2 separate regions of the Homo sapiens genome follow, and region 2 is linked to region 1. The links are contacts of gene promoters, found by promoter capture Hi-C in blood cells and fetal thymus (Javierre and others, 2016). All regions are on one chromosome and are shown on one strand. The core of a region is centred on a gene start or on the middle of the fragment in contact, and the rest is flanking DNA. Distances in the headings are between cores, read along the strand shown. Region 1 holds the start of ZP1 (zona pellucida glycoprotein 1). Region 2 overlaps LOC124902678 (a long non-coding RNA gene).

What was found. The method cuts DNA at HindIII sites, captures the fragments that hold promoters and counts their contacts. A CHiCAGO score of 5 or more calls a contact.
Region 2: a fragment that was not itself captured here is called in contact with the fragment with the promoter of ZP1 in region 1 in 7 of 17 cell types (total CD8 T cells, total CD4 T cells, non-activated CD4 T cells and 4 more); the score reaches 8.7 in total CD8 T cells.

The regions. Positions count from the first base shown.
Region 1 is chr11:60,866,113-60,868,974 of GRCh38, reverse strand. It overlaps ZP1 (zona pellucida glycoprotein 1), which reads right to left and starts at 1,433. Exons shown (of 12, transcript NM_207341.4): 1 at 1,218-1,433. The coding sequence starts at 1,413. The HindIII fragment of the contact is 3,593 bases long and covers 162-2,862 here.
Region 2 is chr11:61,187,052-61,189,913 of GRCh38, reverse strand. All of the region lies in intron 2 of LOC124902678 (a long non-coding RNA gene), which reads right to left. Among named protein-coding and RNA genes, the nearest start is that of PGA3, 15 kb to the left of the region's middle. The HindIII fragment of the contact is 6,697 bases long and covers 1-2,862 here.

The DNA of each region.
Region 1 (2,862 bases), core at 184-2,683:
GTTTCCACAGCTGTAAGGGGATGGGAGGGTCTTAGGATCTTTCTAGCTAGGGTTCCCTGCTCACAGCACACGGCAGCAGGCAGGCACGAAGATGAGGTGGAGAAGGGATACACAGGGTCTCAGGCACTGGCCTGAGTATTTCACATCACTTCTTTTAAGCTTAGTTATCCACATCCTGTGGCTGAGGCAGCTGAGGAAGGGAGGGTGCGTGAGCTTTCTTAGGTGCACACAATGAGGGGCAGAATGAGGATTTGAATCCTGGGCTTTGTAGAAAGATCTGAACCCATTTCCCAGGTTAACTGTGGCTGCTGCAGTTGCTTGGAGACACCCCCTAGGTGTCCACCCTGCTTGTTGCCCCAGAACAGCCTGGGCATTCCCTGGGTGTGGGCATGTCCCCATGCCCTTGTTCCATGAGCACGGCCAGGTTCATCTTCCCCACCTTGCAGATGAGGAAACAGAGGCTTATGAGTCAGGTCAGTTGTCCAAAATCATCCCGTTTAGAAGCTGCAGATCCAAACCCCAGTTCTAAACCCACACCAGGCCACGCCTACTAGGTCCTGCTGCTGGAAGTGGTTTATGGACCCTCAGCCTCAGTTTTGACTGAGCGTGGTTAGAGATGCAGAGCCTAGGCTGGGTGCAGTGGCTCACGCCTATAACCCCAGCACTTTGGGAGGCTGAGGCAGGTGGATCACCTGAGGTCAGGAGTTCGAGACCAGCCTGACCAATATCGTGAAACTCCATCTCTACTAAAAATACAAAAAGTAGCTGGGCGTGGTGGCACACACCTGTAGTCCCAGCTACTAAGAGGCTGAGGCAGGAGAATTGCTTGAACCTGGGTGGTGGAGGTTGCAGTGAGCTGAGATCGTGCCAACTGCACTCAAGCCTGGAGAACAGATTGAAAGAAGTGAGACTGTCTCAGAAAAAAAAAAAAAAAAGAAAAGAAATGCAGAGGCTTGGCCCTGCCCCAGGTCCACTGAATCAGAACCTGCACCTCAACAAGGTGGCCAGGTGTTTCCCATGCACACTAACGTGGGAGAAGCTGCCCTGGGTGATGATTCTCCTCCTTGCCCTTTTCTGTGGTGAGGGGGTGGGGGGCTGGACACCCCCAGGCTGGAGGGAGGCCTCTGTTCTTGCTCCTTCAGGGGAAGGGTCCCAGCTCCCTTCTGGCAGCAGCCCGTGGCCAGGGAGGCAGGGGCCAGGACTCTGCCAGCACTCACCCACCACCTTGAAGCGGAGAGTCTGGCCTGGCCTGGGGAACACCAGCAGCTGCATTCCCTTGATCCCACAGTCGTAGCTGTGCCGGAGGCCTGGGAGGCCAGGGTCGGGCTGGAGCCACCTACCCAGCCCCAGGGTGGCAACCAGCAGTAGCAGGGCCACAGGGTAACCCCAGGTCGTGGCTGAGCCTCCTGCCATGAGACGCCACAGACACACCCCCTACTCCCTCGCCACCAGAGCTGGGCCCAGGCCTTTTATGGAGGAGGTGGCAAGTGGGTGCCTGTAAGGGCAAAGGGGGCCCACCTGGAGGAGCACCCACCTGGCCACCAGGGGCTGTGGTGAAACTCCTGTTCCAAAGGCAGCGGGAGGCAGAAAGCTGCACGTGGCCCCTCACCCTGGCTTTCTGTCTCACAGCTGTGGCTTTGGAAGGGAGGAGGGAGCTTTCCAGAAAACTGAGGTTGCAGATGGGCTGTGGGAAGGGATCCAGGGCTAGGAGGTGGCACTGCAGACCTCAGGCCCTCCACTGTCTCCCTCTCACCCCAGCCTTTCTGCATTCCCTTCCTGCCCCAACAGGCTCTCCAGGTCCTCCTTCCTGCCTTGAGGCCTCAGGACCACTGGGAGCTGCCGGCCTGGTTAGTACAGTCACAGCTCCTCAGGCAGGGCTTTAGGGGCATTAGAGCAAGACCAGGAAGACACAGCCCTCAGAGCTGGCAGCGGAATGGGGACTGCAGGTGAGTAAACAGACCAGTAGCACCTCCAAGGGCTCTCCTGAGGATTCAGCCGGTCAGTATGATGATGACTATGACTAATAAAAAATAACAAGGACAACTAAATGTAATGTGGCATCTGGATGGGATCGTGGAACAGAAAAAGGCAGTAAAAGTGAAGAAAGTGGATTTTAGTTAATAATAATGTGTCCACATTTGTTTGTTCATTAATTGTAATAAATGTATCATACTCAAGTAAGATCAGTTATGGGGTAAACTGGGCCTGCGGTGTATGGGAACTGTCTGTACTATCTTCTCAGTTCTGTAAATCTAGAACAGTTCTAAGACATAAAAGTGGCTGGAAACAACAAGAATGGCCTGTGGTCTGCCATGATTACAGTGCCAGGTCTTGCTTGTGTTAGATCCTTATACCGCCTGACCATCCTCTGAGGAAGGGACTGTCACCAGCCCCACGTCCTGGCACTAATTCCTGCAAGTGATTAGCCTAGGGCCCAGCAGCGTTTGAGCTCAGCAAACATTAGAAAATGCAGCTATTATAATTAGCAGCTGCTGGAAGGGGAGAGCAAGAGGCTTGATAGCTAAGAGCCCGGTTCTGGTGAGGTTGCAGAGAAAAAGGAATGCTTATACGCTCTTGGTGGGGGTGTAAATTGGTTTGACCACTGTGGGAGTGTGGTGATTCCTCAAAGAGCTGAAAACAGAACTATCATTTGATGCAGAAATCGCATTACTGGGTATATATCCAAAGGAATATAAATTGTTCTATCATAAAGACACTGAACCTGCGTGCATATGTTCAGTGCAGCATGATTCACAATAGCCAAGACATGGAATCAAATGCCCATCAATGGTAGACTCAATAAAGAAAATCTGGTACATGCTGAGCACGGTGGCTCACGCCTGTAATCCCAGCACTTTGGGA
Region 2 (2,862 bases), core at 199-2,698, 320 kb before region 1:
TTCCAAAAGTATTTATTAAGCAGCTATTATTTTAGGCACAGAGGATTCATCAAGAAACAGGACAGACCCAAATCTTTGCCCTCATGAGTTTACACACCAGGGAAGGAGACAGATAACCAACAAGATAAATAAGCAAATTATAGCGTGTGATTCTGTGAAGCCAGAAAGAAACTACAGTAAGGAAGAAGATGGGGAGTGTCAGGACGGTTGACATTTTAGACAGAGGGACCACAGAGGGCCCCACCCTGGAGGGGGCGTGTGAGTGGAGACTGGAAGGAGGTGAGGGAGGGAGAGTGCTTGTTACTCATGATTTGAGCTGTGCTTTTCTTTTCTTTCTTTTTATAGGCAAGTCAACTTTATTTTTTTGGTTTGCATTTTATCCTTTCCATTGTTTATCCATTACGTATCTACATACTTTTTTTTTTTGAGACAGAGTTTCGCTCTTGTCGCCTAGGCTGGAGTACAATGGTGCGATCTCAGCTCACTGCAACCCCCACCTCCCGGGTTCAAGCAATTCTCCTGCCTCAGCCTCTGGAGTAGCTGGGATTACAGGCTTCCGCCACCATACCCAGCTAATTTTTGTATTATTAGTAGAGACGGGGTTTTGCCATGTTGGCCAGGCTGGTCTCGAACTCCTAACCTCAGGCAATCCACCTGCCTTGGCATCCCAAAGTGCTGGGATTACAGGCGTGAGCCACTGTGCCCGGCTACGTTCTTATTATTAGATCTTGCTGGGTGCAGTGGCTCACTCCTGTAATCCCAGCACTTTGAGAGGCCAAGGTGGGAGGATTGCTTAAGCCCAGGAGTTCTAGACCAACTTGGGACACATAGCGAGACCCCCATCTCTACAAAAAATTTAAAAATTAATGGGGCATGGTGGTGTGTGCCTGTAGTTCCAGGTTCTTGGGAGGCTGAGGTGGAAGGGTGGCTTGAGTCCAGGAGGTTGTGGCTGCAGTGAACCGTGCAACTGCACTGCAGCCTGGGCAACAAGTGAGACCCTGTCTCAACAAGAAACAAATTTAAAAACTTTAAAAAGTAAATGAACAGGCCTTAAAGTAAAACATTGTCTACCTGGGAAATATTTTTAAATAGCCAAATATATGTGTCTAACCATTGGAAACATTTAAAAGTCATAATATTTATTTAGAAGATAATATTAATTGTAGACTTTCTTTAGGAAATATATTTATTGTAAAACTGTATTCTATAGTTCATATAACCTTTGTAATAAAAACTCAGGCAGCTAATTTTTCATTGCATTCTGTTCTGCACAAACATTTTTGCAATATATCAAAATTGTGTATTTGTAAAAATGGTCTGTGCTTTTCTTTAGACAGATGGGCAGATGTAGTCCACGCTCATCACTTTAAGAGCAAGGAGCAGGCCGGGAATGGTGGCTCACACCTGTAATCCCAGCACTTTGGGAGGCCAAGGCAGGCTTATCACGAGGTCAGGAGTTTGAGACCAACCTGGCCAACATAGTGAAACCCCATCTCTATTAAAAATACAAAAAATTAGCTGGGCATGGTGGTGGGTGCCTGTAATCCCAGCTACTTGGGAGGCTGAGGCAGGAGAGTCGCTTAAACCTGGGAGGCAGAGGTTGCAATGAGCTGAGATGGAGATCACGCCACTGCACTCCAGCCCAGGCGACAGTGCAAGACTCCGTCTCAAAAAAACAAAACAAAACAAAAAAACAAAAATTAGCCAGGCATGGTGGTGCGTGCCTGTAGTCCCAACTACTTAGGAGGCTGAGGCAGAAGAATCTCCTGAACACGGGAGCCAGAGGTTGCAGTGAGCCGAGATCGCGGACTGCACTCCGGCCTAGGCGACACAGCAAGGCCCTGTCTCAAAAAAAATAAATAAACAAAAGAAAAAGAGCCAGGAGCAGATTCTTTCCTATTGATAATTTCCCTGCTCTTAGAATCTGGGGTGCCTTCCATCTTTCACTGGTAATAGAGTCCCTGGGAAAATCTTTGTAGCTAATATATATTTTATAACTAATAATAATAAACATATATTTACTTATGTGAGATGTATTTCTCAAAATGGGATTCGCAGGTCTAAAGGTAGGAGAGTTCATATTACAGTGGTTTCATGTCGCTAAGTAACTGTTTAAGTAGATGGAACCAATGGGCGGGTCTAAGACCACCACATGTATGCATGTAATATCCGCCTTGGCCACTAGGCGTCAGTCCTCCACTGACAGTAGGCTTCCTGATGGCCTTTTTTCTCTGGGGAATAATTCACTCCAGCAGGAACCCAGGCAACCCCAGCAAAGATATAGCCTCCTCTCTATTGGGGGTCTTTCCCTCTCTTTTATAGAATAATGCTTAGCTTTCCCACCATCTTAAAAGCAATCACGGAAGAAACTCAGAAAAGTATAAGGAGAGAAAAAAATTGTCCATACAGTTGCCTTTTGGATAGAATGAGTGTTAAATCCTTTGGCTAACTGTTAACCTTTTGGTCTTTGTCTGGTGTTTAAAATAGAAATAGCTCGGCTGGGCGCAGTGGCTCACGCCTGTAATCCCAGCACTTCGGGAGGCTGAGGCGGGCGAATCACGAGGTCAGGAGATGGAGACCATCCTGGCTAACACGGTGAAACCCTGTCTCTACTAAAAAATATAAAAAATTAGCCGGGCGTGGTGGTGGCCGCCTGTAGTCCCAGCTACTCGGGAGGCTGAGGCAGGAGAATGGCGTGAACCCGGGAGGCGGAGCTTGCAGTGAGCCAAGATCGAGCCACTGCACTCCAGCCTGGGCGACAGAGCGAGACTCCGCTTCAAAATAAATAAATAAATAAAATAAAATAGAAATAGCTCATGCTACGAGGTGACAGGCATGTTCTAAATGTTTTATATGTTAAAT